Linked DNA regions of Homo sapiens: regions 1 and 3 are each linked to region 2. The links are contacts of gene promoters, found by promoter capture Hi-C in human tissues and cell types (Jung and others, 2019). All regions are on one chromosome and are shown on one strand. Each heading gives the region's core, a stretch centred on a gene start or on the middle of the fragment in contact. The rest is flanking DNA. Distances are from core to core; before and after follow the strand shown.

What was found. The method cuts DNA at HindIII sites, captures the fragments that hold promoters and counts their contacts. A contact is called where the count stands out against the background at its distance.
Region 1: a fragment that was not itself captured here is called in contact with the fragment with the promoter of NTN1 in region 2 in 2 of the 25 tissues and cell types used here (heart left ventricle and neural progenitor cells).
Region 3: a fragment that was not itself captured here is called in contact with the fragment with the promoter of NTN1 in region 2 in 2 of the 25 tissues and cell types used here (heart right ventricle and mesendoderm cells).

What each region holds. Positions count from the first base shown.
Region 1 is chr17:8,948,997-8,952,857 of GRCh38, reverse strand. All of the region lies in intron 1 of PIK3R5 (phosphoinositide-3-kinase regulatory subunit 5), which reads left to right. Among named protein-coding and RNA genes, the nearest start is that of PIK3R5, 15 kb to the left of the region's middle. The HindIII fragment of the contact is 5,738 bases long and covers 1-3,861 here.
Region 2 is chr17:9,019,237-9,023,135 of GRCh38, reverse strand. It overlaps NTN1 (netrin 1), which reads right to left and starts at 1,626. Exons shown (of 7, transcript NM_004822.3): 1 at 1,551-1,626; 2 at 1-825. The coding sequence starts at 762. RefSeq lists silencers at 1,375-2,164, 2,215-2,264 and an enhancer at 1,685-2,228. The HindIII fragment of the contact is 11,312 bases long and covers 1-3,899 here.
Region 3 is chr17:9,132,707-9,136,215 of GRCh38, reverse strand. All of the region lies in intron 2 of NTN1 (netrin 1), which reads right to left. Among named protein-coding and RNA genes, the nearest start is that of NTN1, 110 kb to the right of the region's middle. The HindIII fragment of the contact is 5,202 bases long and covers 1-3,509 here.

The DNA.
Region 1 (3,861 bases), core at 938-3,437, 71 kb after region 2:
CCATCTCCCCTCCTCCCCCTACCTTTCCTGCATTTTCAAAGCTGCAGGCTTACTTCTCGTTGGCTGTGTTACTCCGAAGATCTGCTCAGTAGATGGAGGTGAAAATGTTATTTTTCACTAAAATATCTGACCTTGTTTAAGGAGAAAAAATTTTGTAATAATGCCCATAATTTATTCTCATGGTACTTTATTGACCAGTAAGAGATTACCCCTAATTCATTTATAAAAATATTACTCTCTCGACTTAAGTCGCTTCAATACTAACTGGCCAGCCCAGTTTGCTCCAATGAGTGTCTGGCCTTTAAATAGCTCAATCCCTGCTGCTCTCCCTAGAGTAGGACACACAGAGGTGGGGACTCCATGTAGAAAACCTGTGCTCCAGAAGTCATGTCTGTAGGATGACTTCACCTTTTATGAGGTGTCTCTATCAAGGAAATTTTGGGTATACCGTGTGGTCTTTAAGTCAGACCATAAACCATATTCTACAAATTCAGGGGAAATCCACCAGCTGTAACTAAATGGCATAGTAACAGAAAAACAAAAACATCATTTCTCTTATTAGGTAACTCAGCATTCACTGAAATATTAGTTGGTCTACTGGTTTCTCTGTTGGATTGGAGAGACCCAAAATAATAGTGGCTTAAACAAGATAGAGGTTTATTTCTGTCTCAGGTAGCAAGCTGGGCATAAGTGATCCAGACTTCACATGACAGCTTTATAGGTTGGGAACCAAGGTTCCTTTTGTGTCATTGCTCTGCCTTCTTCAACATGTAGCTCTCATCTCATGGTCCATAATGGCTGCTCTAGCAATTGCCATCGCATCTGCATTCCAGCTAGCAAGAAGGGGAAAGGGGGAAGGGAAGTGCATGCCTCTTCCTTCTAAAAGCATGACTTGGAAATTGCACTTATCAATGTCTATTCATATTCCAGTAGCCAGAATGTAGTCATATGGTCATACTTAGTTACAAGAGTCTGGGAAACGTGATCTAAAATTCCTAAAAGTTATATCCCCATAGAAGGAAGGAGAATAGATATGGAAGAACAATTTTGAGTCTCATCCACATTTGAACTTTGTGAATCTTCACTGTTACATAGATGTTCTTTATCCCTTCTGTTGTGGAGTAAGCTTGCCTCCTAAGCCCTGCTGAAAACTATTAATAAAAAACAGCATGCTACACCAAAAGGTCAAACTAACCCAAATGTCCATTAATGGATAAATGGATAAACAAAATGTGTATATACATTCAATTGAATATTATTGATCCTTAAAAAGGAATGAGGTTCAAACACATGCTACGATATGCATGAACCTTGAAGACATTATGCTAAGTGAAGTAAGCCAGACACAAAAGGATAAATACTGTGTGATTCCACCCAAATGAGGTAGCTAGAGTAAACTCATAGAAACAGAAAGTAGATTAGAGGTTACCAGAGGCTGGGGGGAGAAGTGGCGGGGAGTTAGTGTTTATTGGGTATGGAGTTTCAGTTTAGGAAGACGAAAAAGTTCTGTGAATGGATGGTGGGGATGGTTGCACAACATTGTGAATGTACTTAATGTCACTGAACTGTATACTTAGAACTGTACGCACAAAACTGTACACACACAACCTACAGAATGGGAGAAAATATTTGCAGACTATGCATCTGTCAAAGGTCTAATATCCAGAGTCTATAAGGAACTTAAACAAATCAACAAGCCAAAACCAAATAACCCCATTTAAAAACAGGCAAAGGACATGAACAGACACTTCTCAAAAGAAGACGTACAAATGGTCAACACACATATCAAAGATAATGCTCATTATCACTGATTATGAGGGAAATGCAAATCAAAACCTTAACAAGATACCATCTCGCACCAGTCAGAATGGCCACTATTGAAAAGCCAAAAAACAACAGATGCTGGCGAGGCTGTGGAGAGAAGGGAACACTTACACATTGTTGGTGGGAGCGTAAATTAGTTCAACCACTATAGAAAGCAGTTTGGAGATTTCTCAAAGAACTTAAAACAGAGCCACCATTTGACCCAGTGATCTCATTACTGGGTATATTCCCAAAGGAAAATAGCTCATTATACCAACAAGACACATGTACTCACATGTGTTCATCACCCCACTATTCACAATAGCAAAGACATGGAATCAACCTAGGTGCCCATTGATGGTAGATTGGATAAAGAAAATGTTCTACATATAAACCATGAAATACTATGCAGCCGTAAAAAAGAATGAAGTCATGTCCTTTGCAGCAACATGGATGGAGCTGGAGGCCATAATCCTAAGCAAATTAATGTAGGAATGGAAAACCAAATACCATATGTTCTCTCTTACAAGTAGGAGCTAAACACTGAGCACAAGTAGACATAAACATGGGAGCAATAGACATTGTGGACTCTCAGTGGGGAGAGAGGGAAGGGTGAGGATTGAAAAACCTCCTATTGAGTACTGTGCTCACTACCTGGATGCAATATACCCATATAACAAACCTGCACCTGTATCTAACATAAAAGTTGGAATTAAAAAAATACTTACAATCGTAAATTTTATATTGCATATATTTTACCACAATCATGCTATAAAGGACCAAAGGCAGGGTTCTCTGGCATTTTAGGAGCAATGTCCCTACAGATGAAGCTACTCAACACCCTTTGGGTGAGGTTATGAAGCCAGTAATGAATCCATCTATCTGTGTTATCATTCGTATTTTTTACATCATCATGAAACTATATAGCAAGACTTGCTCAAATTCAGATATGCTGCTATTGTGGCTGTTCTTCTATTACCTCTTTAGTCAGTGAATCCATTGATCCCTATTGGCTGCTGGTGGTTCCTGGATCTTTCCCTTAGCATTCACAAACTGTCTTTTAATAATGTATAGAGAATGTTGCCAGGGGACTGGTGGACTCAGACATGTACTTTAAAAAATTCCACTTAAAAAAATTGTTTTTAAATTTTTATTTTCATAGATTTTTGGGGAACAGGTAGTATTTGGTTACGTGAGTAAGTTCTTTAGAGGTGACTTGTGAGATTTTGGTGCAGTGTACGTTGTACCTAATGTGTAGCCTTTTATCCCTCACCCACTTCCCACCTTTCCCCTGCTAAGTCCCCAAAATCCATTGTATCATTCTTATGCCTTTGCATCCGTATAGCTTAGCTCCCACTTATGAGTCAGAACATATGATGTTCGGTTTTCCATTCCTGAGTTACTTCACTTAGAATAATAGTGTCCAATCCTATTCAGGTTGCTGCAAATGCCATTACAGAATTCTCCCTTTCTTTTTCTGTTCCTCACGATGACGACAACATTTTCTAATCTGTCTCTGTCTTTCTCTGTCTCTGTCTCTTATACATCTTTCATTTTCTCTGATTCTTCAAAGATAATCGGTAGCAGCTCCCTTTCACAACCTCAAGTTTCTTTATGACTCTGAGATGCCTTTATTCTCTTCTGCAATCCTAAACTCATTTTCAGCAGCAAGCCTCCCTATTTGGCATCAGATGTTTCAATATCGGACCCTTTCCCCGCAATCTACCTTTCACCCTGTGGCTGGTACAACCTTCCAAATCCAAAAGCTGATGTGTCATTCACCAGCTCGAAATTTAGCAGTGGCTCCACATGGCGCTTGAGTAAACCCTTAAGCACTTAGCTTGGCAGATAAGGCTGTTCACAGTCTACCATGCCAGCCCATGCAGCATCATCTCCCAGCGTGCCCCATGTCATGCCTACCCTTCAGTAGGGCTGAACTGCCAGCATTTCCCTAAAGGAACCATGCTGTCTCCCGCCTCTTGCCTCAGTTTATTTTCCTACCATGAGATTCATGCCTGAATCTCACCCAGGGCAGCTCCTCCTTCCTGAAATGTTATC
Region 2 (3,899 bases), core at 377-2,876:
CAGGCGGCTGAAGGCCACGCGGATGTCTGTGGCCGTGACCCAGTCCTGCAGCACGGGCGAGTTGTCGAAGTCGTGCGCCGAGGGCCGCCCGTCCAGCGTGCTGAAGGCGATGAGGCCGCCCGAGAGCGGGCGCATGTCGGTGTGCGAGTCGGTGCACACGGCCTCCTGCTCGTTCTGCTTGGTGATGGGCGCGCGGTGCGGCCGGTTGTACATCTTGCGGCACTGCGTGGAGTAGAACTGGAAGGGCACCCACGTGCGCCCGTAGTCCATGGACTTGTAGATGGCCATGGACTCGGGCCGCGGCGAGCAGAACTGCAGGCTCACGTAGGTCACTTCGAACTTCTTGCCGAGGGACAGTGTGAGCGTGACGTTGTGCGGGAACTGCAGGTAGTTCTCGGACTGCCAGCACGTCAGGTTGTGCGGGTTGTTGAGGTCGGTGAGGAAGGCGGGCGGGTGCGCCTTCTTGGGGTCGGACGCGTTGCAGAGGTGGCACGAGCGCAGCCGCTCCTCGCCGCGCTCGCTCACCACGCAGTAGCGCGCCGGGGGCCGGCCGCAGGTGCTGGACACGCGCACGTCCTTGCCGAAGGCCGCATTGACAAAGTCCGGGATGCAGCGGCGCGGGTGGCCGTTCTCGTCCGAGCAGGGATCGGGCTGCGCCGCCTGGCCCGCGAACATGCTGAGCCCGGGCCCGCCGCGCACCGCGCCCACCAGGCACGCCACCGCCGCCAGCGCCGCCAGCGCCTCCCACACTGCGCGCATCATGCTGCGTCCAGCTTGCCCCGGCCCTGCCGCGCCGAGGATCTGTCCGCCTGCCGCAGAAGGCGCCTGCGGAGAGAAGGGAGCTGCGCTCAGCCAGCCCGCCCCGCGCCCTCCAGCTCTCGGCGGGGTGGCGAGCGGAGATGCGGGAGAACGCCCGGCTTCCTGGGCACCCACCCCGCAGCCGACTGCCCGCCTCTCTCCCCCAAAGTCCCGCGGGCGGCGAAGCCGGGGCCCTCCAAGTCCGCACCGCTCGCGCCCCTTCTTCCCCGCCCGGCGGGAGAACGCTCTGCTTCCCCGCCACCGCCGCCCCCACGCCGCCCGAGGGGCATGCCTGAGCCGGTCTCCCCGTCCGCGACCAGCCCCCCTCGCACCCCAAGTTTCGGGCGCAGGAGAGCTGGGGGACCCCGACTCTGCACGGCCCGCGCCCCTTCGTCTCGCAGCCCGGGGTCCCTCTCAGATGCCCCCCGATCGCGTCCCCGCCGGAAAGTCCGCGTTCGGGACTTTACCTCTGGAGGGGGCAAAAGAGAAAGAAAAGTTTGCCTGGCCCCTCCGGGGAGCCCGCGCGCCGGTCGCCGGAGAGCCTCTCGCTCGCTGCTAGCAGGCGCGTCCCGCCTCAGCGCGGGCTTGCCAGCTCCATGCCCGGCGCGGCCGCCGCTGCCCCAGCCCCAGCCCCGGTCCCGGCCCCGCCGCCGCCTCTCTCGCCCGAGTGACTACGCGGCCGCCCGGCTCCCGCCGCTCCCGCCGAGCTCGGAGTGCTGCCCTGCCCGCGCCCGGGGCGCACACACACTCACGCTGGCCGGCGCGCACTCACACACACGCGCGCTCGCCCCCGAAGGCTCCGCCGCCGCCGCCACTCGCGCTGGGAGTGAGGGGCGGAGGGGAGCGCGGGGGCGGGGGGCGGGGCCGCCGGGCGGGGCGCCGGCCAATAACGTCCGCGAGCTGCCGCCAGCTCCGAGCAAAGTTTTCACCCCGGGAAAGAAGAAAGTTAAAGGGAACCGGCCCGGACGCCCGAGAGGGAGAGCACAGGCGGGTGGGAACCCGGGAGCCCGAGAAAGAACAGCAGAGACAAAGAGAAAGCGAGGAGAGCACCCGGGGAAACCCCGGAGAGGGGGCTGGGCCGGGCCAGGCGCGCACCCCGTGGGGGAGGAGGGGCCGCCGGGGACTGTCAGCCTCGCCCGCGCCCCGCGCCGCCCGGAGAGCCTCACGCCCGGGGGAGCGCGCGGGCGGGGGAAGGGGGCCACTTTCTCCCTCCCGGTCCCAGCCAAACACATCTGTGTTTGTTTTCTTTGCTGCGCGGAGGTCGGGCCTTCCTCTAACCCAGCCTGATGGCCCCCGGTGGCACCGCGCACAGGGCTGTGCCCCTGTGGGCACGCAGCCCGGGAGCGTGAGGAAGAGGAGGAGGATGTGACCTCTGCCTGCTCTCCATTTTTGCCCGAAGCCCCCGGGGTCCGGCGAGGAGGGGCTGCTCGCCCGCACTCCCACGGATATCACCGTGCGTGAGCCTGTCTGTCGGGAACGCGGCTTCGTTCTAGCCAAGGGAGCAGTGGTGGGCAGGAGGCTGAAGGGGTAGGAAGCTGGCAGCACCTGGACGCTGGCCACCGCCCCTCCAAGACGGGCCTGCCTGGTCTCAGGCATGGGGACAGCCCAGCCCTCCCCAGATCCCCTGAGGCAGGCGTATCGGTACTTCCTCAACCGCATTTTTAAGGGTGCAAAGCCCTGTAATAGCTCATGGGACCTCCACAGCAGCTTTGCTGTTGTATTAACTCCATTTTGCAGATGAGGAAACTGAGGGTCCCGGGAGCTGAAGAAACTCGCACAAGATCAACCCCCAAGTAAACATCAAAAACAGGAAGAGAAGCCTGGGCTCCTTCCACTGCAGGGCATTCGTCAAATGCATAACCTTGCCGAATGATGGTGTCATGGGGCATCTGCGGGGCCACCCAGCCCCTCCTTGCCTCATTCTCCATCGCCCCAATAAAAAGACTGAGGACAGTGACAGCATCCTTTGGTCATCTTGCAACAGCAGCCAGAGAGCTCTGGGAAAGGAATACACTGGGCCGAGAGTTTGGAACGGAATCTCTGCTCGTTTATTTGTTACTTGTAGATGTGTGGTCCAGTAATAGACCCGGATGAAAAGCCCCAGGTCCTGGTTCCGGCCCAAGGGCTGCCTTGCTGCATTAGCTCCATTAAGTGCCTCAGTTTGTCTTATTGGCATTTTCATAAACCCTGAGAATCTAAGAAGGGGCCTCGGGGCTCGTCTGGCCCAGCTCCGTCTCCTTGGAAGAAGGCCTTCCCCAGCCTCCCAGAGAGACGGCCACCCAAGCCAGCTCTTCCAGGGATGGGAGCTCACCACAGCTCAAGAAAATAAATCCATTCCATTGCAGGACAGCCTGGATTCATCTTCTTACCCCGGGGTAGCAATTTAGCTGTGCCTTCTTGTGCCGTTTACCACACTCTGCACTGTTTATTTATGCCTTACCTCACCTTGTGGCAGAAAGGATTTCAGGTAACTTACAAGGGTACATAAAATATGACACAATAACAAATTAAAAGTGAGGTCAAAGGAAATAAATGAAATGGTTAACCATGGTGACCTGTGAAATCGCAATGGTATACTGAAAGGCAGCATAGCTCTTAGGAGGAAACGCTTCGGAGCCAGGGTACCTGGGTTCAAATTCTGCCTCTGCTGTGTGACTATGGAAAGTCTATGCCTTGGTTTCCTCCATCTGTACAAGGGAGATAATACTTTCTACCCCACTGGGTTGTGAGCATCACGTGAGTTGACACATTTGAATATTATAGCTGATGGGATATAGACATACATATTGCAGGTCTGTAACACATATAAATAGGCTTTCTCATGTATGCAAATGTAAATATGCATAAAACCAGGCACATAGTACATGCATATAGAAATGTTAGCTGTTAGTATGAGGTCGCTTGATCTATACAGAAATTTTAAATCATTTAGAGAACACTTAATTACAGGGAAAGATGTTCATGACATATTATAATATGAAAAAAGCAAATTAAAAACACACAGTATAATGTCATTTTAATTTTTTAAAAAGTATGCATAAAAAGACAACACAGTTAATAGTGGTTATCTCGGAATAATGAGATTACAGGTGATTTTTATT
Region 3 (3,509 bases), core at 301-2,800, 110 kb before region 2:
TTTGGTTTGGTTTTGTAAAGACTGAGGTGTGCAGGGCAGCATTTGCTCTGCTGCCCCTAGCTGCTGGCCTGTTGCTGGAGCATTTCCTGCCCACTCTTGTCAAGCTGTGACTCAGTTTCCCCTGAGTGGGGACTGACTCTAGGAAGATTCCAGAAAGCAGCCTGAGTCATCGCACCAGGGGGACACGAGGAAATGGGCTTAGAGCTTCCCAGGCGGGAGTGAGGAGGATGGGTGTCGAGTTTGAGTAGGCACGTGCACACATGTATGAGTGAGCGTGCGCACACAGACACGTTTGGGGTGGCAGTGTTCATGCTGCCCTCTGAGTATGGGCTGTGCTCAGTCGACATGTGTGAAGAGGAGCTCAGGGAGTGAATGGTGGACTCAGGGCTAGAACCCTGGTCTCCTAAATGCCCCTTCCAATGCCCTGGAATGCTGGAAGCCAGAACAGATTGCCAGGAAAGGGCTCTAAGGACAAGTGCCCCACCAGGCCTACTCCAGGGAGCCCTAGAACCTCAACCTGGAGATGAGACAACAGCTTAGAAGAAGTAAGAGTCCAGTCTCTACAGAAAAAGCAGAGGCTCCACACACCAGCTGAACCCAACAGTGCTGGGCCATCGTGACAATTCAAGGGGAAGCCAATGGGCTCCAAGAAGCGTGGATCTCAGCCAATCCTCTGCATTCAGAACTTAGGAGAGTCTCATGGTCAAGAGGACTAAGTGGTTGACCCCGACAGTGGCGAATGAACTATTGCTGGGAACAGGAGACAACCCGAGAATAGGGGGAAGGACGTCCAAAGGCTCAGAGGCCAGAGGAAGCCGTGCATGAGAACAACGTTAGTGTGGTCTGGTTGGCAGGATGGCTGCAGGGGAAGCAAGAGCCAGACACAGGTTCAGGACTGTGCAAAGAGGTGTTGGGTCTGGGGGACACATTCAGACCCAGGTGGCAGCTGCTCTCAGACACTTTCCAGCAGAACAGTGACCCTCCTGTAGCCAGTAAAGGGCAGCCCAGACAGGAGATGGGAAGAACTGGCAAGGTGAGCAAAGACAAAGGAATGGGGTAGAGAAGGGAGGATGGGCCGGGAGCATCAGGGGCTGGGGGACAATGTGCCTTACCGGGCCCTCGGTGTGGATGGGGACACCCGTGTCCAGGTACAGCACTCGGAGAATTTGGTCTGGGTATGGGGGTTGGAGGTGTCAGCTGCATGACAATGGGGGTGTCCATTCAGGAGGCAGCACCCCCTGGGTCTGGAACTCAGGGACAGGCCTCCCAAACAAGACTATTGAGTTCTGGAATAAGCTTTCTCACCTTTCTCAGGACCCAGAACCAAAAGCAGGGCAGGAGGAAGACGCTTTATTGAGAAGTCCTGGTAGGTTCATTTCCAGTCTGCAAATACCTAGAAAACAACAGCCATGGAAAGACCCCAGGCCTGAGGCTTAAACTCAGCGGGCTCTGTGATGCACTGACTGTCTCTGCATGTTCACTTCGCACCTAGAAGGGTCCCACAGGGCAATGAGCAGCCAGCATCTGGGCCCTGAACATTTGGAACCCCTGAAAGCTCAGGGCCGCCCAGAGCAGAAAGACTGTCTATTCTCATGGTTCTCTGCCCCGGCTGCATGTTAGACTTACTTGGAAAGCTTTTTAAAAAGTGTGGTCCCCACCCCAGAGACTCTGATTAATTAGTGTGGAGAGAGGCCCTGACGTGAGTAGTTCTGTTAAAGTTCCAGGTGATTCTAATATACAAGGACCATGCTCCCAATCTAGTCAATCCCTGATTTTCCAGTGAGGTCCAGAGAGAGGCAGCTGCAACCCCAGCCGGGCACAGAAACCGGAGGGAGTGCTCTGGGGGGAGAGAGGGTGAGCACCCAGTTATCACTAAGAGGGGTTGGCAAGAAATCAGTCATCTGGGGGAAAGAGGACAGCTGTTATTGGCCCCAGGAACAAAGGGGTCCTGGCAAACATATTCTAAGGGAATCCTGTTTATGAGATGAGTGGGGCTTTTAAACATTCAATGAGGGCCAGGTGTGGTGGCTCATGCCTGTAATCCCAGCACTTTGGGAGGCTGAGGCGGGCAGATCACAAGGTCAGGAGTTCAAGACCAGCCGGCCAACATGGTGAAACCTCGTCTCTACTAAAAATACAAAAAATTAGCTGTGCATAGTGGCAGGTGCCTGTAATCCCAGCTACTTGGGAGGCTGAGGCAGGAGAATTGCTTGAACTCGGGAGGCAGAGGTTGCAGTGAGCTGAGATCACATCACTGCACTTCAGCCCGGGAGACAGAGTGAGACTCTGTCTCAAAAAAAAAAAAAAAAAAAAAAAGGCTAGGCCCAGTGGCTCATGCCTGTAATCTCAGCACTTTGGGAGGCCAAGGCAGGCAAATCACAAGGTTAGGAAATCAAGACCATCCTGGCCAACATGGTGAAACCCTGTCTCTACTAAAATACAAAAAAAAAAAAAAAAAAAATTAGCTGGGCATGGTGGTGCGCACCTGTAATCTCAGCTACTCAAGAGGCTGAGGCAGGAGAATCGCTTGAACCCGGGAGGTGGAGGTTGCAGTGAGCCGAGATTGTGCCACTACACTCCAGCCTGGCGACAGAGCAAGACTCTGTCTCAAAAAAAAAAAAAAAAAAAATTCAATGAGAAGGTCCCTGCACAGAATGGAAGACCACGGCCAACTTGCTTTCCAGCCAGGACAAGAATTAAGCATGCGCCCTGGCTCCCAGCCCTGCATGGTCGTTACAGGTGTAGACACCACCTGCTGAGTAAACCTAAGGCCCCAGCTCAAACACAGCAAGTCGCCTGGGAGCAAGGAGGAGAGATGGCCCTGCTCCTGCTGGGCTGCCCAGATCCTTCCTCGGCAAGCCCTTAGGCGAGCACCTGACCTCCTGGTCTTGGCACAACAGGTCCTGTGAGTGAGAACCACAGCCAAACTACCTCTCCGGAAGCCTGGAGCTGCTTTCCCTGAGGCCTCCAGTAGATTCTTAACAGACCAAGGCGGTGGTGGCATCCGTCAGACTCCCCCAGGAGCAGCTGGCAACATGCAGTGTCAGAGATCCCTGACAGGGAAAGGAGAAGGACTAGATAGTTGCCCAGGCTTAGAAGCTGGCAGGGCTCTCGGTGGCTCGCACTGGGTGAAGGTGTGGTCAGCCGTTAAGGTGGAGGGGAGGAGACCTCATCCCAGGTTGTGAGCGTCTACAGTCCGTGGAAGGTTTTGGCCAGAATGCTTAACCAACAGCATTTCAGATATTCCTGGAGTCAGGCTGGGCCACACTCAGCTCATTTTGACCCTCAGTTAAAGGGAATTTGGTATTATCAGTGTGGACGTGTCATTCTTTTTCTTTTTTGAAACAGAGTTTCTCTCTTGTTGCCCAGGCTAGAGTGCAATGGTGCAATCTGGGCTCACCACAATCTCCACCTCCTGGGTTCAAGTGAATCTCCTGCCTCAGCCTCCTGAGTAACTGGGATTACAGGCATGTGTCACTGCACCTGGCTAATTTTGTGTTTTTAGTTGA